4 separate regions of the Homo sapiens genome follow, and regions 1, 3 and 4 are each linked to region 2. Evidence: promoter capture Hi-C in human tissues and cell types (Jung and others, 2019). All regions are on one chromosome and are shown on one strand. The core of a region is centred on a gene start or on the middle of the fragment in contact, and the rest is flanking DNA. Distances in the headings are between cores, read along the strand shown.

What was found. The method cuts DNA at HindIII sites, captures the fragments that hold promoters and counts their contacts. A contact is called where the count stands out against the background at its distance.
Region 1: a contact is called between a fragment that was not itself captured here and the fragment with the promoter of TMEM63A in region 2, in 1 of the 25 tissues and cell types used here (IMR-90 fibroblasts).
Region 3: a contact is called between a fragment that was not itself captured here and the fragment with the promoter of TMEM63A in region 2, in 2 of the 25 tissues and cell types used here (adrenal gland and mesenchymal stem cells).
Region 4: a fragment that was not itself captured here is called in contact with the fragment with the promoter of TMEM63A in region 2 in 2 of the 25 tissues and cell types used here (mesendoderm cells and spleen).

The regions. Positions count from the first base shown.
Region 1 is chr1:225,609,813-225,614,473 of GRCh38, reverse strand. The region is part of intron 1 of ENAH (ENAH actin regulator); the gene reads left to right. Among named protein-coding and RNA genes, the nearest start is that of ENAH, 41 kb to the left of the region's middle. The HindIII fragment of the contact is 7,233 bases long and covers 1-4,661 here.
Region 2 is chr1:225,879,049-225,884,059 of GRCh38, reverse strand. It overlaps TMEM63A (transmembrane protein 63A), which reads left to right and starts at 1,680. Exons shown (of 25, transcript NM_014698.3): 1 at 1,680-1,756; 2 at 4,650-4,840. RefSeq lists enhancers at 762-811, 872-921, 3,124-4,074 and silencers at 1,432-1,591, 2,152-2,271. The HindIII fragment of the contact is 9,047 bases long and covers 82-5,011 here.
Region 3 is chr1:225,578,827-225,584,279 of GRCh38, reverse strand. The region is part of intron 1 of ENAH (ENAH actin regulator); the gene reads left to right. Among named protein-coding and RNA genes, the nearest start is that of ENAH, 72 kb to the left of the region's middle. The HindIII fragment of the contact is 7,894 bases long and covers 113-5,453 here.
Region 4 is chr1:225,377,870-225,382,848 of GRCh38, reverse strand. It overlaps DNAH14 (dynein axonemal heavy chain 14), which reads right to left. Exons shown (of 86, transcript NM_001367479.1): 80 at 2,527-2,690; 81 at 1,270-1,466. Among named protein-coding and RNA genes, the nearest start is that of LBR, 48 kb to the left of the region's middle. The HindIII fragment of the contact is 3,469 bases long and covers 1,287-4,755 here.

The DNA.
Region 1 (4,661 bases), core at 1,643-4,142, 270 kb after region 2:
GGGGTACATCCCAGGTACAGGAGATCAGAAACTCTTGCTCTTAGGACCCTTCCAGACCTTCCCCATGTGTCTCTTCGTCTGGCTATTCATTTGTATCCTTTAAAATATTAGTATTGGCTGGGCACAGTGGCTCACACCTGTAATCCCAGCACTTTGGGAGGCCGAGGTGGGTGGATCACCTGAGGTCAGGAGTTCGAGACCATCCTTGCCAACATGGGGAAACCCCGTCTCTACTAAAAATACAAAAATTAGCTGTGCATGGTGGTGGGCGCCTGTAATCCCAGCTACTTAGGAGGCTGAGGCAGGAGAATCACTTGAACCCAGTAGGTGGAGGTTGCAGTGAGCCGAGATTGTGCCATTGCACTCCAGCCTGGGCGACAGAATGAGACTCCATCTCAAAAAAAAAAAAAAATCTTTCTAATAAATGGGTAAACATAAGTAAAGTGTTTTCCTGAGTTCTGTGAGCTGCTCTAGCAAATTAAACTCTGGGGAGAGCTTATGGGAACCCTGATTTAGAGCTATTGGGCCAGAAGCACAGGTCACAACCTGGGGCATGAGATTGGCATTAGAAGTTGGGGTGGTCTTCTGGGACTGATCCCTTAACCTATGGGATGTGATGTTATTTCCACATAGTGTCAGAATTGAGTTAAATCATAACTCACTTAGTGTCTGCCAGAGAATCTGGTGTCAGGAGTGTGTTGTGTGAGAGTAGAAAAAACACTGTTTTTTTCCCCATCTTTAATAATAAAATATGCTATAAGGTGTAGTAGAGCATTATCCCTTATTAGGAAGAGTTTATAATTAGTTATTTTTGTTGTTATGGCTGAACCAGACCTTTGCTTTGTTCTCAGAAAATATCTAGCAAAGTTACACATTTTCTTTGGTTCAATAAGTGTTGTTTGTTGATCTAGTTGTATATTTAAAAATAGTGTTAAAAATAAAATATGTGCTTATTACACATAAAATTGACAAACTGAAAAAGTAGAAGGAACAAGTTAATCAACAAATATTTATTATCTTCACAAATATTTATTATTACCACCAGGCACTGTTCTCTGCCCTGGGGAAATGGTGTTAAACAAGTCATGTACCCAGGGGGCTTACATTCTGGTAGCTGAATGGAGGAGAAGGATGTACCAATAAGTCTGTTATTCTCAGTAAGTGTGAAAAAGATAAAATGTGTAGTGAGAAAAGATGGGTGGTGAAGGCAAGGCCTAACTTGGTTGGGGTGGTCACGGAAGGCTTCTTAGGGAGGGACGTTTGAGTTGCTCTGAAAGATGAGGAGGCAGTCATTGGAGAGCAGGGAAAAGAGTACTCTAAGCAGAAGAGGTCCAAAGGCCTTGCAATGAAAATGAGCTTGCTTTGTTCAAGGGACAGAAAGTAGGAAGAAAATAGTGTCCGTAGCAAAACCATAGGACACATACTGAGTCTTTGTAGATGTATACTTTGGCTTGTATTTTTAGAATTTGTATTCTGCTGTTTTAATATTTGCTTCATAATATAAACATTCTTCATTTCATACCTTAGTAAACATTTTTAGTGTTGACACAATTAATTTTGTAAATGTATCGTGGTTGACTTACCCATTCCCCAATAGTTTGGCATTTAGATCCCTCCTCCCCCCCTTTTTTTTGCATTATTGTAAGTATTACAGTGAGCACTTTGGATATAAAACTTTTTTGCTTCTTACGGTTGGTCCTCAGAAGGCAAAATATAAACTGGGGCAAAGATATGAATTATTTAGTATTTATTGCCAGAATATTTGGCAAAAGCTTTAGTTTATGTTCCAATTACCAAAGTGTAGAGAGTGTTTACTGTATCCTGGCCAGCATTAAGTATTATTTTTGTTTTGAAAATTTTTTTTGCTGTGGGAAAATGCAGATAACATAAAATTTACCATGGTAACCATTTAAAAGTGTACAATTCTGTGGCATTAAATAAATCCACAGTGTTGTGCAACCATTGCCACTATCTACTTCCAGAACTTTTTCATCACCCTAAGTGGAAAACCTTGTACCCACCAAGCAATCATTTCCCAATCCCTGTTCCCCATCAACCCCTGGCAGCCATGAATCTGCTTTCTGTCTCCATGGATTTGCCTATTCTGGACATTCCATGTAAATGGAATTATATAGTACATGGCTTTTTGTGTCTGGCTTCTGTGACTAAGCATAAAGTTTTCAGGGTTCATCCGTGTCATAGCAGTGTCAGTACGTCTTCCCTTTTTATGGCTAATATTCCATCGTTTGGATATACCACATTTTGATTATTTATTCATCTCTTGATGGACATTGGGTCATTTCCACCATTTAGCTCTTGTGAATAGAGCTGCTATGAAGATTTATGTATAAGTATTTGAATACCTGTTTTCAGTTTTTTCGGACATATATCTAGGAGTGGAATTGGCCGGGTTACATGATAGGTAATTTTCCATTTAGCTCATTGAGGACTGGCCAAACTGGTTTCCCCGTTGGCTGTGTGATTTCACATTCTCACCAGCAGTGGATGAGGGTTTTAATTTCTCCATATCCTCACGAATACATTATTTTTAAATTTTTTGTGTTTTGTTTTTTATGATAGCCATCCTAGTGAGTGTGATTTTTGATTTCATTGTGGTTTTTTATTTTCATTTCCCTAATGACTAAAAATGTTCAGCATCTCTTCATGTGCTTGTTGGCCGTTGAGTATTATCTTTTTCTCACTCTGTCACCTGTGCTGGAGTGCAGTGGTGTGAACACAGCTCACTGCAGCCTTGACCTCCTGGGCTCAGCTGATCCTCCCACCTCAGCCTCCTGAGTAGCCAGGACCAAAGATGTGGGCCACCACACCTGGCTAATTAAAAAATTTTTTTTTTGTCTGGGCAAGGTAGCTCATGCCTGTAATCCCAGCACTTTGGGAGGCTCGAGGCAGGTGGATCACCCGAGGTCAGTAGTTCAAGACCAGCCTGGCCAACATAGTGAAACCTCATCTCTACAAAATATATAAAAATTAGCTGGGCGTGGTGATGCACGCTTGTAGTCCCAGCTACTCAGGAGGCTGAGGGAGGAGAATCACTTGAATCTGGGAGGCAGAGGTTGCAGTGACCAGAGATCGCGCCACTGCACCCCAGCCTGGGCAACAGAGCAAGACTCTGTCTCAATAAATAAATAAATACGTAAATAAATAAATAAATTTTTTTTTTTGGTAGAGACAAGGTTGCCCAGGCTGGTCTAGAACTCCCAGGCTCATACAGTCCTTCCACCTTTGGCTCCCAAAGTGCTGGGATTACAGGGACTATTATCTTTTTTCAACTTGAAATTTTTATTGAAATATAAGATGTACAGAAAAGGGCACATAGCACCAACTCAGTACACATGTGTAACCATCACTTTATGCCCTCTTCTAGTCACAGTCTTTCACCAAAGAGTAACCCCACCTGACCCAGAACAGCGTCAATTAGTTTTGCCTGCTTTTGTACTCATGTGAATAGAATCACATAGAACATATTCTGTATCTGCCTTTTTCGGCCTAACGTTAGATCTGTGCCGTTCATCTGTATCATTCATTTTATTCTATTGTGTGAAATACTAGTTTATTCATTCTAAGGTTGATGGACATTTGGATTGGTTGCAGTTTTTGGATCTTATAATGTCGTGAATATTCTGCTATTTGTTTTTTCTTGAGCGTGTATGTGGGCCAAATACAGCTTTTGGAGTGGTTGATCGTACTAGCGTTAAAATGTCGCCATTGGTGTAAATAATTCCTCTACTTTGTTGGCTGTTTCTTTTTTTTCTTTTAATTTTAGTTCTGTTTAGGCATGGAGAAGTTGTAAGTGGTTTTCTTTTGTTCATTTATTTGGTTAGTTTTAAGTTTGGATTGTGACCCCTTCATCCAGAGTTTTAAAATTGGAAGTCAGCTCTCTTGAGTCACATAATCTTGGTATGAAGTTTAAGATGAATGAAATGCAAGCATACTTGGGAAAAAAAAGAATTTTTTTTACTGGGGACCTATCGTTCTTTTCTTACCAAATGTTAAGAGTATCCCCCAATATTTTTATAGTAATTATAAAATCACAAATTTATTATAACCCCACAGTAGGTCCTAGAGACTAACTGGAACAGAAAGCAATATTGTTTTAATTGTTTGATCTTTGAGCTCTAGTAAACTTCTCTATCTTTTCTTATTTTCTTTTAAAATTACAAAATAATGCGTACATATTATAAAACATTTGAAAGTTACATAAGAAAATCAAAATAATGTCACTACTTGAGAGAAAATCACGTTAGTACATACACTTCCTGTTTGTTTTTAGGCAATGCTAGTTTTTTTTTTTTATTGAACATAATGTTCTATAATGTGATTTCCCCTAAATATACTGTGAATACTTTCCTCTGTAATTAAATATTATTCTAAAGCATGGTTTTAAAAAATTAGAGCATGATTTAAAAATTTAATTTTTATCATGTGGTATACATGTACATATTAATAATTTATATAGTCATGTAGTTTTACAAGGCTAATAAAAAAAGTAGGCCGGGCGCGGTGGCTCATGCCTGTAATCCCAGCACTTTGGGAGGCTGAGGCAGGCGGATCACTTGAGGCCAGGAGTTCAGACCAGCCTGGCCAACATAGCAAAACGCTGTCTCTACTAAAAATATAAAAAATTAGCTGGGGATGGTGGC
Region 2 (5,011 bases), core at 431-2,930:
GGAAGAAAGATTGGACAGGGACAGTCTAAGGAGCCAACGGGGAGTCCAGGGGCCACACCCAGGACTCTGCAGACCGTCAGATGTGGAGGTAAGAGAGCAGGGAGGGGGGATGGCCAGGCGCAGCTATGGAGGGACAAGGGCAGAGATGATACTGGCGGGGGGCATAGAGGAAAAACCCTGGAAAATAACTAGTGGCTAGAGCTTTGGGGAGAGAAGGGGAAAGACAGATGGGACAGAAAAGAACTGAGAGAGGCAGGAAGAGACCCTCCCCACCCCACTCCTGGACAGCCACAGACTGGCGCTAGAATCAGGGACAGGGAGGTAAGGAGGAATTTTTTTTTTTTTTTTTTTTTTTTTGAGACAGAGTTTCGCTCTTGTTGCCCAGGCTGGAGTTCAATGGTGAAATCTCAGCTCACCGCAACCTCCGCCTCCCAGGTTCAAGCGATTCTCCTGCCTCAGACTCCCTAGTAGCTGGGATTACAGGCATGTGCCACCACACCCGGCTAATTTTGTATTTTTAGTAGAGACGGGGTTTCTCCATGCGGGTCAGGCTGGTCTCGAACTCCAGACCTAAGGTGATCCGCCCACCTCGGCCTCCCAAAGTGCTGGTATTACAGGCATGAGCCACCGCGCCCGGCCATAAGGAGGATATTTTTATGCCGTTACAGAAAAAGATGAAAGCTCAGAAATGGAAGGGAGGTCGGAGAACCTGCAAAGGCATGCATGTGGGGTGAGGACTGCTCAGAGCTCAGAGAGGGGTGCTGGAAGGGACCTGAGAGGAAGCTTTGGTCCAACCACTCATTTCACAGATAGGGAAACAGGGGCCTGCGGACGGGTTGGTTTGCTCCTTGATTCCCAGGGCGCGCGGTCCTCCCCGAACCCAGCCTCGCTTCCCGCGCAGCGCCCAGCAGTCCCTGGCGCGGCGGGCCGGCCCTGCCCTCGCGAGCTTGCGGTCCGGTTGTGGAGGCCACCGGCTCCCTGGAAACATTTGGCTCCCGGCCGGGAGGCATGCCGCGCTCTCGGACCTGGGCTGGAGTAGGTGCCCTTGGCGGCCCTGGCTCGAGCAGTAATGGACTAGCCCCAGGGGGCGTTGGAAATGCTGCGACCCGCCCCCACATTTTTGCCCGAACGGAGACCCTCCGGGCTTTCACGGTCCGGCCTTCTACAGCGGCGGGGGAGCCGTGGCCTCTTGCAGGGCGCTCCGCGCGGTTCCCGACTACCCGGAGCCGAGGTGCGGGCTGAATCCTGCTGAGCTCCCCATGCTACCACCCCCGCAACCCCACTCTCCCGGGGCGGGTCTAAGAGCTCTTCGGGGAAATTCAAAGCACTACAGGGACCAACGTTTGCAGATGCTCTCCCTGCGCCGCGACCACCCTGTGCTTGGCCCAGTTCTCCCGGAGGCGTCCAGAGACTGGGCTCGTGCCGGGGGACGGAAGAGGGTGCGCCCCGGCGGATCCCTTCTTGGAGCCTGGACGTGAGCTGGCCGGTCCGGGGCTTGCAGACCTCCGGGAGGAGCTGCGGGGCTGAGCGGCGACCAGGAGGCCAGGCCGGGGCAGAGGACCGCCGAGGGCCACCGCGGGAGGCGCAGTCAGCTGCGTACAGGCTTGCGCCGCCGCGGGCCAAGACTCCAAATTGGGAAAGGGGTGGCCGCAGCTCTGCGCATGTGCAGGAGGCGCCGGAGTTTCACTTTGTAACTTTTAAGTGGTCGGAACACGCCCCGCGCTGCTGGGTCCCGCCAGACACGCCGCCGCCGCAGGTACAGGGGACAGGGGGCGTGAGGAGGGGCAATGCACCCTCCGCCTTTCCCGGGACGTGCGCGCCAGGTGTCCGGTTCCGGAACGGCTCCCAGCCTACGCAGACCCCAGAGCCCCCGACCCCAAGCAGGGGGTGACGACGCGGGATTGGGTGGGAGGAGAGGGTCCGGGCAGCGCCTCCATTCCAGCCCTGCGCTCCTTGGGAATTCCTGGCGGCTTTTCAGGACTTTCCTCTCCGGCTTTTCGCTTTCAGGGCTGGTATCTCCTTCTTCCCCACCCCTCTCTTTGGGATTTGTCGGCGGAGTCCGACCTCCCACCTAACTAGGAGTGCAGCTATGGGCTCCTCGGACCCTATACGAGGCCGGGCTGGGAAAGGGCCAAGCGTCCGACTCTCCTGACGCCAGGAAGGCAGAGGCCACCCCTCGGGCTGTTCCTGGGTGACCACTTCCTGCAGCCTTGGCGGAGTCCTGAGGAGGGAGGCTGGGGACTCGGGGACTGGGGGGAAGGGCGGGGGCGGAAAGGGTGAGGCGAGCTCTGCTAAGAAACCAAATCCGCAAAGGTTCCAGCACCTGATAAGACTAGCTACCTGAGGCCCTGGAGGGGCCTTGGTCATTCAGCCCCAGGCAGGTGGTGTCCTCTTCAAGGGCAGGGGTGGACAGCGTGGCGGACCCACTGACCCTCCCTTGACACCTCTCAGGTCATCCTCAAGTCTGCTGTGCCTTCAAGGGGGATATGAACGGAAGCCGAGGCTCCTTTTCCCTTCACACGCCCCTCTCCTTTGTTTAGTGTGGGGGCAAAGGTCTCTCCTAGCTGTTCGTTGGGCTCTAACAGAGAAGACGTCAGGTGGGATCCTGCCCTTGTGTTTCCCATTAGCTGGAGGGGCGACTTAAAATAAAGGCAGACAGCTTCTAATTGCTTGCTAGGGCCGGGTCCTGGGCTAAGTGCTTTACAGGTGTTGTTTGGGATCTGTGCCTCCCAACAGCTCCGTGAGAGAAAGTCATCACTCGCATTTCCTGGCGAAGGAAGCCAAGGCACAGAGTGGTTAGGCTGCTTGTCTGAACTGCGTGGTGCTGAGACCCTAACTCCAGAGCCTGCTCACATAATCCCTGAGCCACACTGCCTCTGGTTTCAGCCAGGGGCTGTGTCATTTCCTTTGTGCTCCAGGGTAGGAGGTAAACAGTTGTCCAGGTTACTGGGTCCTGTTTGGTGTTGCCATAAGGAGAAGTTTGTACTTTACTTTGCAACCTTATTCTGCATCTGAAAGACCAGAGTTAGCTCCTGAGGCAGAAGGCCTGGAGCTGCTTGTAGTTTCGCTATTGTCATCACAGGATTGAAAGATTTGGTGATGATAAAATTACCCTGAATTTGTACGGGCCTTCTTGCAAGAACGAACAATATCCATATACTTCCTGCAACATTCTGCTGGTATTTCTAGAGCTTGTCAAGTTGACCACCAGGCCAGTCCTTGCTGCCAATGGAGACTGGCAGTGGATTAGCATAGGTAGTTTACTTTGGCAAATTTAGACCAGCTGTTGGATTTAGCCCTCTCCCACTGGCCACAATCAGACGCTTGCCTGCACATGGGTTGAACTTTGGGTTGGGAGCGTGAAGTCACCTGCTGCCCACTCTGGCTCTTGGGCCTCAGCAGTAATTCTTGGCTTTCCTACCCTCGGCATATTGAGTAGGAATAAGGGGATGAATGGAGAATTTCTGGAAGGCACAGGTAAGTGCTAGGCATTCACATACATCTAGGATGACTGAATATTGCCAGGGGTTCTCAGCCAGGCAGTGCCACTTCAACCACAGTGCCTAGCTGCTGGTTTGGCCTCCTCTATACAGCTGCCAGCTGGGTGCTCCCCTCCCCCTGCCTTCTCCTCAGCCTGGCAGCACTGTCCCATGGTGTCTGTGTTCCCAGCTGCCTGCTCAGAGCGTGCCTGTTTGTGAAAATGCAGAGGAGCTGTCCCATGGAGAGCCAGAGGGACGGAGCTGTTTCAGGGGGATCTGGACTTTATGTGTCTAATGGGCAGGGACAGGCTGGGACTGAGCTGAAAGGTCTGAGAGAGATTGTGGGTCCCCAGAGCTCTACCCTAACCTGGGTGCTCATCGGAGAGGGCAGACAGGACTGGCCACCTGACCTTACCTCCGTCTCAGGCTGATAGTATTTGCTAGCCACCTCCCTGAGTTCATATCAAACTTTGTCAAACCACCCTGGGAAGCCTATTTGGCAAGAGACAAGTAACTTAGAGGCATGACTGGGGCTGGAGGGAGGGGGAAGAGGAGCCGCAGGTGTTTCCCTCCGCAGAGGCCTCTCTCCTCTGCAGCACTGGCGAGGGTATGCCACTCCCAGCACCACCACAGCACCCTCCCCTTTCCAGGGACAATGCTCTCTCTGTGAGCATTTTATGGGGATGTTTTTTCTTTCCACTTCACATTTCAAGCCTTCCTTGTTCATGCTGCTGTGTTCCCTTTTCCTGATTCTAGCTCTTGGGGAACCCTGGGGAGCCTCCCCAGTAGCATTGGCCCTTGGGGCCCAGGTGAAGTCCTTTGCTTGGGGCCCTACCGTGAGCCCACAACCTCCAGGGTTTCTGTGGGAGAGGGCTGCTCCCCTAGACCCAGCAGGTCCCTGAGCCATTGGCAAAGAGGAGAGAGGCTGGGGCCACAGGTGGTGCTGGCCGAGGAAGGAGGAGTAGGGTCGCACAGAGGAGCACTGATGGATGGAGAACCAGTTCTGGGAGTTTGGGGAGAGATCAAGGCAGGAGGGAGCCCACTGGGCAGAACCTAAAGGTCCATATGGGCAGCATGCATACACAGGTGTGTGCTGGAGGGTTTCCATCCAGACCCCTACACTGGAAAAGGGTGGCTCCCATGTGATGCTTGGTGTCTGTGATCCTTCAGGAAAGTCTACAGTTTGGTACCCCAGGACTCGCTGGTCAGGAAAGCCCTGCAGGACATGAGTGTTAGGCCCGACGCCTGGCCCTTGGCAGCTTGGGAGGTGGCTGGGGCTGCTTTTGCCTTTGCCAGAGACAGCTCCAACTGAGGACCTCTCCAACGGGCCCATCCACAGTCCTTCCTTCCCCTAGTGTCTGGTAAGTGTGGGGACAGGAAGGAGGAGGGGTAGGTGGTGGCCTTGAAGTGTTGGGCTGGTGTGTTCCATTGGGTGGTGCCACTGGGGGATTTTAAAGGGAAGCCAAGAACATCTGTGTTCCAGAGGTCACTCTTGTGACACTCTGTTCAGAGTCAGCAGCCCCATGACTCTG
Region 3 (5,453 bases), core at 2,810-5,309, 300 kb after region 2:
TTTTGCTGTATTTGTCTGATATATCCTATCTGCATAATTTGAAACTTCTTAAGATAACGTTACAAGTTTTACCTTAAAAGAACACAGTCCAATTTATATTTATCCTGTATTTACCTTTTTTGTTTTTGAAACAGAGTCTTGCTCTGTCGCCCAGGCTTGTGTGCAGTGGCACAATCTTGGCTCACTGCAACCTCCATCTCCCGGGTTCAAGCAGTGCTTGTGTCTTAGCCTCCCAAATAGCTGGGATTACAGGTGTGCACCACCACACCTGGCTAATTTTTGTATTTTTAGTGGAGATGGCGTTTCACCATGTTTGCCAGGCTGGTCTTGAACCCCTGGCCTCAAGTGATCTGCCTGCCTTGGCCTCCCAAAGTGCTGGGATTACAGGTGCGAGCCACTGTGCCCGGCCTACATTTACCATTTTTGATGCTCTTCATTTCTTTTCTTTCTTTCTTTTCTTTTTTTTTTTTTGAGATGGAGGTTTGCTCTTGTTGCCCAGGCTGGAGTGCAGTGGTGCAATCTGGGCTCACTGCAACCTCCACCTCCCAGGTACAAGTGATTCTCCTGACTTAGCCTCCCAGGTAGCTCAGATTACAGGCATGCGCCACCATGCCTGGCTAACTTTTTTTGTATTTAGTAGAGACAGGGTTTCACCATGTTAGGCTGGTCATGAACTCCTGACCTCAGGTGATCCACCCGCCTCTGCTTCCCAAAATGCTGGGATTACAGGCATGTGCCACTGCGCCCAGCCTAATGCTCTTCATTTCTTACAGACTATTTGAGTGTCTGGTACCATTTTCTTTCAACTTGAATAATTCTCTCTCTCTTTTTTTTTTTTTTTTTTTTGATACAGGGTCTTCCTCTGTCGCCCAGTCTGGAGTGCAATGGCGCGATCTTGGCTCACTGCAACTCCACCTCCTGGTTCAAGCAATTCTCCCACCTCAGCCTCCTGAGTAGCTGGGATTACAGGCACCCGCCATCATGCCTGGCTAGTTTTTGTATTTTTGTAGAGATGAGGTTTCACCATGTTGGCCAGGCTAGTCTTGAACTTCTGACCTCAGGTGATCTGCTCGCCTCAGCCTCCCAAAGTGCTGAGATTACAGGTGTGAGCCACCTCGCCTGGCCTCTTTTTTCTTAAAATATCTTTATTTGCCTTCATTTTTAAAGAATATTTTCCCTGGATATGGAATTCTAGATTGGCAGCTTTGTATTTGAGCTCTTTAAAGATGTTGTTTTATTGTCTCTGTTCTCTTTTGTTTCTGCAGTACAATATGAAGATGTCTGTGGTCATCCAATTTATTGTTCTTCTTTATGTAAAGTTTCATTTTTCTCTAGCCATTTCAAGTATCTTCGTCTTCAACTGTGATATACCTACTTGTGGTTGTTTTTAGATTGAATATGCTTTGCTCTTTTTTGCGGAGAGTGGGGAGTTGTCCCAGACTCTTACACATATTAATATGTTAGCCCCAATGATACTGTCCCACAGATCTGTATAACTTGGTTGGACTCAAAACAGCAAATTCTGTCTTTTAGGCAGTGGGTCATATTTTGGTTCAGCTCTTTTAGTTACTTGGAAACTGCCCTACACATGAGTAGATCAGGGATCATCCAGAGATTTAGGCAGAGTTTATATACAGAATTTGGGGTTCCTTCCTGCCCACTGGCTCATTTTCCTCCCAGGAATTTCCTCTCATTTTGCAGCAGCTATGGATTGCCCTGAACTCTATCCTTTTATCTTTAAGCTAGAAAGTCTGTGGGGGTTTCTGTTGGAGTTTTAGCTCTCCCATGTAGCACAGACCAGGACCAGTTGTCAGGCTAAAAGCTGTAAACATCAGAGAACTCTCCCCGTATTATTCCTTTCTTAAAAGAGTTGACTCCCTTCTTCTCATTCTCCAGTGCCTTCCTGCATTAGTCCGTTCTTTTCACTGCTATAAATAAATACCTGAGCTTGGGTAATGTATAAAGAACAGAAGTTTAATTGGCTTACGGTTCCATAGGCTTTACAAGAATCATGATGCTGGCTTCCGGGGAGGCCTCAGGAAACTTACAGTCATGGCGGAAGGCAAAGGGGGAGCTGGCACTTCCTGTGGCTGGAGCAGGAGCAAGAGAGAGAGAGGGGGGGAAGACAACCAGATCTCATGAGAACTTACTATCAAAGGAATAGCACCAAGGGGATGTTGCTAAACCATTCAGAAAGGACGACCCTCATTATCCTGTCACCTTGCACCAGGCCCCACCCCCAACATTGGGGATTACAGTGACATGACATTTGGGCAGGGACACAGATCCAAACCATACATTTCATATAGTTGTTCTATAAATTTTATCCAGAGATGAGGATTGCTTGAGCTCAGGAGTTAGAGACCAGCCTTGGCAAGATAGGGAGATCCCATCTCTACCAAAAATTAAAAAAAAAAAAAAAAATTAGCTGGGTGTGGTGGTGCGTGCCTGTGGTTTGTCCCAGCTACTTGGGAGGCTGAGGTAGGAGGATTGCTTGGGCCTGGGAGGTAGAGGATGCAGTGAGCACCACTGCACTCCAGCCTGGGTGACGGAGTGAAACCCTGTCTCAGAAAAAAATTCTTTTTAATTTTAATCCAGAGTTTATAGTTTTATCTATGGGAGGGTCATTTGGAAAGTTGGCCATTACTTGGCCAGAAGCAGAACCCTCCCTGCTTACATTTTGAGAAAAATAGATTGAGATTCTATAGTATTCTGCTTTAGTTTTTCTTTCTTGATCTCATATGGTACTTGTCTTTTGCTGACACTATTCATTCATTGAAATTAATAACCTTGCAAAATAAAAATATAAGAAGTCAGTGTGGCTCACCCTCCACCCTCCACTCCCACTCCATCTTTCATCCCGTTTTTATTTCCACGTCTGTCTAACTTGGCTCTGCCTGGTGCCTTTATAGCTAAAATTAGCCACACTTGATATTTTTAACTCTACGGTGCTTGGAAAGTATTTTGAGAGGCTTTGCCATATAACTTCATGAAAATAATGTGAGGAAAAGAAGAACTACAGGAAACAGGTGAAATAATCTATTCAGTTACTGAGAAAAGTTTCTTATTAATGGGAGAATTTATTAAGATAGGGAAGTATGTGTTGCCAAGTGAAGTGTTTTCCCACATTTTTCTTTTTTTTCTGTGACCATTTCTAGATGTCTGTACTTTTTGTGAACTCTCATGCTGTGAATGACGGTTTAGGTTTGCTGGTGCACTGGGAATTGATCTTTGAAAATTACAAGTCCAGTTAAAAAAAGATGGGTGGCCAGACGAAGAATCTGAGCCCTGTGTGCCTATATGTGTGCTAAAAGTCACGGAGCTTATGAAATCTGAGGTAATCTTGGCTTTTTTTTTTTTTTTTTTTGGTTTTTTTCTTGAGACAGAGTCTCGCCCTGTTGCCCAGGCTGGAGTACAGTGATGCGATCTCGGCTCACTGCAACTTCCACCCTCCCAGGCTTCAGCCTCCCAAGTAGCTGGGATTACGGCACGAGACACCATGGCTGGCTAATTTTTGTATTTTTAATAGAGACAGGGTTTCACCATGTTGGCCAGGCTGTTCTCGAAGTCCTGATCTCAAATGATCCACCCACCTTGGCCTCCCAAAGTGCTGGGATTACAGGCGTGAATTGCACCCGGCCCAATCTTAAGTAGTTTAAGGTCTTGGGGTCAGGCACGAGGGAGTGAAGGGGTAGTGTGTTACTTATAGCCACACAATAAATTACACAAAGTTTTAGTGGCTTAAAACGTCACGTATTTATTACACAGTTTCTGAGGGTCAGGATTCTGGGTTTGGCTTAGGTGGTTCCTCTAGCTCAGGGTCTTTCATAAATGCAGTCAAAATGTTGGCCAGGGCTGCAGTCTCAACTGAAGTCATCACGGGGGGAGGAGGATCTGCTTCTAAGCTCATTCACATTAATGGATTGGATTTAGTTGCATGCCAGCTGTTAGACTGAGGGCCTCATTTTATTCCTGATAATTGTCTCGTGTGGGCCTCTCCATAAGGTGGTGGCAAGCTAGATGGAAGCCAGAGTCACTTCGTAAATTAACCTTGGAAGTGACATTCCATATATATATATATGTATTTTTTTTCCCATATTCTGTTCAGTAGAGGTAAGTCTCTGGGCATGAATACTAGGAGGTGTGGAGATTATTAATAGCTATTTTTTTGTTGTTGATGAGTTGAGGGTGTGGGGAAGAAGAAGAAGGTATAATAAATTTTTATTTCTTACAGTGTATACTTAGAGTAGGAACCAGAATCACACAGTAGGGTGAGAAATTTTAAAAGCAAAGTTTACCACTAGGAAGCTATGTGATGTCTTACATAGGAAGAACAGCAAAGCATCTCAAATAAAGGAACATAACAAAACTTTAAACATTGAAAGGTTCTTTTTCTGTAGTTTTAGGTTGAAGTTTTATCTTAATTTTCTAGTCAATATTTTTCTACACTGACTTGGATGAAAATATTTATAACTGAAAATATATTATTTCTTTTTACCTATTCTTTTTGAAAGATGTAAAGACATATTCTTCTAATTGGCTAATAGATTTCAAAGTTCATGTGCGTCCTGTAATGTGCTAAACTCATACATTGTGTAGTAACAAAGTTGGAGTAGTTTAAATAAAATAATGGAACGATAGCTGCTATTCTATTCTTCATGTTTCTGTGTGCATGTCTGTGTGAATCTCTATCTGTATCTATAGTTTGATGTCTAAAATGTTTCCCACAGATTTTGTCTTTCATGTAATTCTTTGAAGAAAGTTGAGATTCTATTTGAAGGAAACTTTCCCTGGAGTATTAATTTTATGAATAAGTTTCTTCCTACTGCCTTAAAAAAATCTGATATTCTAGACATGTTTTTGTTATAGGTTAACATTGTATCTTCAGTAATGAAACCTTTAAAATAAACCTTGGTTATTTCTAAAAAGAACATAAATTTCAGCAAATAAATTCTTTCCTCTTAGCTTCAAATTAAATATAACATGAAGTATAATGTGGAAATAATAGAAAATATGTGAAGAGGTAATTTTGTGGAACTAATATAGTTTATAGTCAGAATCTTTCTTTTTTTAGTAGAGTGGTTGCAAGTCCAGACCTGGAAGCAGACTGGCTGCTTTAAGTCCCATTTCTGCCTCTCCCTACAGTATGTCTTTAGTCAAGTTAATTCACTTCTTGTGTCTCCATTTCCTATCTGTAAAATGGGGATATTAACGGTACCTACCACATAAGGTTGTTGAAGAAATAAGCGAATTAATAAAGGCAAAGCACATAGAACCATATATGGCACTTAGTAAGTACTATATACATATCCTTATTTTTTACTATTATTAGTAGTATTATTAGTATCAACACTGGCTCAGTAACTGCTTATGTCACTTAATTGTCTCTGGGATTTAGGTCTTTCATAACATAAACCAAGAGATTTGGATTCTTTATAACTGACTAACTGGGG
Region 4 (4,979 bases), core at 1,772-4,271, 500 kb after region 2:
CATTACAGGGACATACCATATTTTATCCATTCATCAGTCAATGGACATTTGAGTTGTTTTCACCTTTTGGGTATTACAAATAATGCTGCCATGAACATTCATGTGCAAGTTTTTGGGTGGACTTTTTTTTTTTTTGAGACAGAGTGTCCCTCTGTTGCCCAGGCTGGAGTGCAATGGCATGATCTCAGTTCACTGCAACCTCTGCCTTCTGGGTTCAAGCAATTCTCCTCCCTTAGCCTCACAAGTAGCTGGGATTTCAGGTACCCACCACCATGCCTGGCCATTTTATTATTATTATTATTTTTAGTAGAGACGGGGTTTCACCATGTTTGCCAGGCTGGTCTCAAACTCCTAACCTCAGGTGATCCGCCACCTTGGCCTCCAAAAGTGCTGAGATTACAAGCATGAGGCCCTGTGCCCGGCCTGGATTTATGCTTTAATTTCTGTTGGATATATTCCTAGGAGTGAAATTGCTGGGTCAAATGGTAAATCTGTTTAACTTTTTGAGGAACTACTGGACTATTTCCAAAGTAGCTGCACCATTTTTCATTCCCATGAGTGGTGCATTTGGGTTCCAATTTCTCCCAATGCTTGTTTTTATGTATTTTTAATTCTTTCCATCTTAGTAGGTGTGAAGTTGTATCTCATTGTGGTTTTGATTTGCATTTCCCTCAAAGCAAATGCTGTTGAACATCTTTTCACATGTCTACACAGGTTTTCAATCTGGTATAGGATTCAGGGTTCTGGAAAAGGCCAGTGCTAATCCTAAGGGGAGAAGTTCATTTCTGGAGAAATAGTGTTTGTGTCCAACATCAAGCTTGTTAATTTCCTACTCTGTGCTGCCAGATCTTCCATGGCTTATTTTATTCCTGGTCTAATACATTTTGTGTTTTTACAATTTGGTCTTCTGTTTAAGACCATGACCCAGTAATTTCTTCATCATCTTGTTTAGCTTTGTTTTTATTTTAAAAGCAATTAAACTCAACACTTATAGTAATACCAAGAGTGCACCTACTTTGACATGAACTGCCATGATACATAGTTCACATACACAGATAGTGAGAACTAAGTGATGGTGCTGCCTGGCTAACAGTGACTGTTAAGAGGCATTCCAACTTCAGAGATGTGAAAATATGAAAAAGTACGTCAGCATCTTTTAAGAGTTACATATTTCATCACACAGATGCACCATTTACCTTCACCATTCCCTTGAACTTGGACATTTATTTCAAGCAAGCAAGAAAATAGGAAATAATAATAATTGCTTACCTGCCACAATGTAGGCACTCTCATATTAAGAAAAGAGTTAAATATTTCCTCCAATTCTTGGGTGAGGATGATCTCTCCTTTTATAGCAAGCTGAAGATCTTTTAAGGATTTATGTATGACAAATAATAACTTATCAAATCGTTTAATTTCTTGCTTCAAAAAGGTTAGCAAGACACAATGGATAAGGGGGTCGTGATCTGGATTTTAAAAAGAAATAAAATTTTGATATTTTACAGATTAAAAAGAGGCTTTACATGGAGGGACTTAGGCTTTGAAAGTTAAGGGAATTTTGTGTGTCTTGACCAGGGGTTGATAAACATTTTCTGTAGAAGGTCAGATAGCAAACATTTTAGGGTATGGGGACCACACCACCTCTGTGAAAGCTACTCAGCTCTCCCCTTGTAGTGTGGGTGCGGCCACACTATCTACTATGTGTGGATGCATAGACAATATGTCATGAGTAAGTGTGGCTGTGTTCCAGTAAAGCTTTACTTATGGCACTCAAATTGGAGTTTCATATAACATTTATGTGTCACAAACTATATTCCTTCTTTTGATTTTTTTTAACCATTAAAAAATGCAAAAGCCATTTTAGTTCACAGGCTGTACAAAAACAAATGGTGGGCTGGATTTGGCCTGCGAGCCCTAATTTGCTGACCTTTGATTGAGACTCAACAATGACACTGTTTTGATAAACTATTGCTCAATATTTGGTTCCCAAATAAACTTCTGCAAAGGGATAAAATATGGGTATTAAAATTTAACTGGGAAAATTATCATAGTCTAGCAATTTAGCCACTTAGAGCTGGGTTTGGAGTCATCTCTGGGCAATCAGGCTTCCTCTGTCTTCCTGGGCCTGCCCTGATTCCCCTTAGCTTCTTGGAGTCAAGTGGTCTTTCAGCAGAAGGTCCATCTAAACTTCCGCTGTTCCAGAAGGCAGAGAGGCAGAGAGAACAGGCACCTAGAACTCTTGACAATCTCCAAAGCAGAGTTGCTGCTTTCTAGTTTGCTACACTTGTTATTTCTTCACTTTTGATTTCAGTGCCACACGCTACCCACCCCCAAACTAAAGCGTGATTTTCTTCTGTGCTCTCTGTCTTTCAACTTGGAGAGAGGAGGCAGAGACTGAGTTTTCCATCTTATCTCAGTATTTTCACTTCTACAGAATTTTTGTCTTATCTTTACCTTACTCCTGACACCAGAGTCCTTTCTTGAGGAGAGTGAGGTAAGGGGAAAAAGCTCCTGTCCCATGCTCACCTTTGAGATTTTTAGAAAGAGACTCCCAAATGGAGCTTGACATCATGCTCTTCAATGTGCTTGGAGTTCCAACAGCAATTTCTTCTTTCTCCACTGTCAGTGGCAGCCGCTTTAGCAAGTCGGATAGAATTTCCATCACCAGTTCATCCTTACTCTGCTCAGGTCTGCAAAAAAAACCAAGAGAAGAATGAGACACAGAACAGGAAGTGGGGAGATGGGGAGAGATTTGTTAAAGGATTCAAGATTACTGGTAGACAGGAGGAATATGTTTAGTGTTCTATACCACTGTAGGATGAGTATAGGTAACAAAAATAGATTATACATCTTCAAATAGCTAGAAGAGAGGATACTGAAAGTTCCCAACACAAAGGATAAATGTTTGAGATGATGGACATATGAATTGCCCTGATCTGATCACTATACATTGTATGTATTGAAACATTACTATGTACCTCAGAAATATGTACAATTATTATGTCAATTAAAAAAATAAAAATTGGCTGGGCACAGTGGCTCATGCCTGTAATCCCTGCAATTTGGGAGGCCGAGGCAGACAGATCACTTGAGGTCAGGAGTTTGAGACCAGCCTGGCCAACATGGTAAAACCCTGTCTCTACTAAAAATACAAAAGTTAGCCAGGCATGGTGGGCGCCTGTAGTCTGAGCTACTCAGGAGGCTGAGGCACGAGAATCACTTGAACCCGGGAGGCAGAGGTTGCAGTGAGCCAAGATTATGCCACTGCACTCCAGCCTGGGTGACAGAGCGAGACTCTATCTCAAAAAAAAAATTTAAAAAAAGAAAAGGAAAGGAAAATAAAATAAAAGAAATCAAGAGAAAAACAAGCTACAGATCTATCTAATGTTAGAGGGTCCTCTGCTTAAGTTCCGTCTGAAGATAAATGTATCTTCACAGAACCACAAAATTATGCTATGGATGATCTTACAGAGACCATGGAATTCATTTCATTTTGTAGATGAGAAACTGTCCAATGTACTTTAGACATTTGCAAGGAAATATGTATTATAAAAGCTTTTTTAGGATTTCTTTGTAAAATAATCATCTGCATGCATCTGCAAGACAATGAAAAAGAGGAGGCAACTAAACAGAGCACGCTGAAGCAGCCGCATGGAACATTCCACTGCTTGCCTCATTCCTGTGTTGACACGAAGGGCTTCTTAATCACACACTCCGCGGGTGGTGACAGGAGGAGCGCGTGTCCAGGCCTAGGTGAGGCTGCGATACTATGCAAAACCACTAAACACTAGAGCTGGAAGAGCTCTTTGGAATCCTTTTAAAGATGATGAAACCAGGGCCCCGGGAGGTGGGAGGACCTCCTTAGACAGTTAGTGGATGAGTAGGAAATGGGGCACATCTCTTTTGAGTTCTGCTGCTCTATTTACTAGCCGGGACTGATTTTTCTTTTTCTTTTCTTTTTTTTTTTTTGGGACGGAGTTTTGCACTGTCACCCCAGCTGGAGTGCAGTGTTGCTATCTTGGCTCACTGCAACCTCCCCCTCCCGGGTTCAAGCAATTCTCTGCCTCAGCCTCCCGAGTAGCTGGGATTACAGGTGCTCACCACCATGCTGGCTAATTTTTTGTATTTTTAGTAGAGACGGGGTTTCACCATCTTGGCCAGGCTGATCTTGAACTCCTGACCTCGTGACCCACCCGCCTCGGCCTCCCAAAGTGCTGGCATCACAGGCGTGAGCCCACCGCGCCCGGCCAGGACTGATTTTTCAACAAACACTCCAGGTTTCACAGTCAAATGAATATTATCCTTCAAGGTAAGCAATAACCTTAAAGCTGCCAAGAAGTATTTAGTCCAACAGTGCTGCTTCCAAACCAGTTTACAGATCGCCTGAGGTCACATGGCTCCTTACTTTGTCATCACACTGTTTTGACTGTAAAGTTGATTTTCTCCTTAGAATTCAACCCAGGTAGCTTCAAATAATTCAAAAGGTCAAAAGGTGTCAAAAATCAAGCTTACCTTCAGAGGGCAAAGATTTGCTACCACTAAGGAAATTACATTGAATATGATAGATGTTTGGATTAAGTCCCACAGACAAGTCTCTAATAAGCAAAGGCAGCAAGACTGGGATAATTATAGCCTCTCAAAGTGACCAAAGGGACATTAATAAGCATATCTAGTATGTTTATTAAAAGCATTTCCTTATAATATGTTGGTATCTTAAATATTTGTAATGTTTAAGAGAATTGGGCCTCGTAATACCTTGTGTTAGATTGGGGTCAGTCTTGTGACCCCAATTAAAAGAGATAATTGAGAAACTGATTTATGATTTTAGGTTGAAATCTTGTTAGATTGATATAAAATATTAGGGAACAAGAAAATTTAAGATTCACCATATTTATTTGATTATTAGATTTATAAAAGTTACTCAAAGATTTGAGAAGGTCTGGAAGACAAATTGAAGTACATTAACTTTATAATGAATA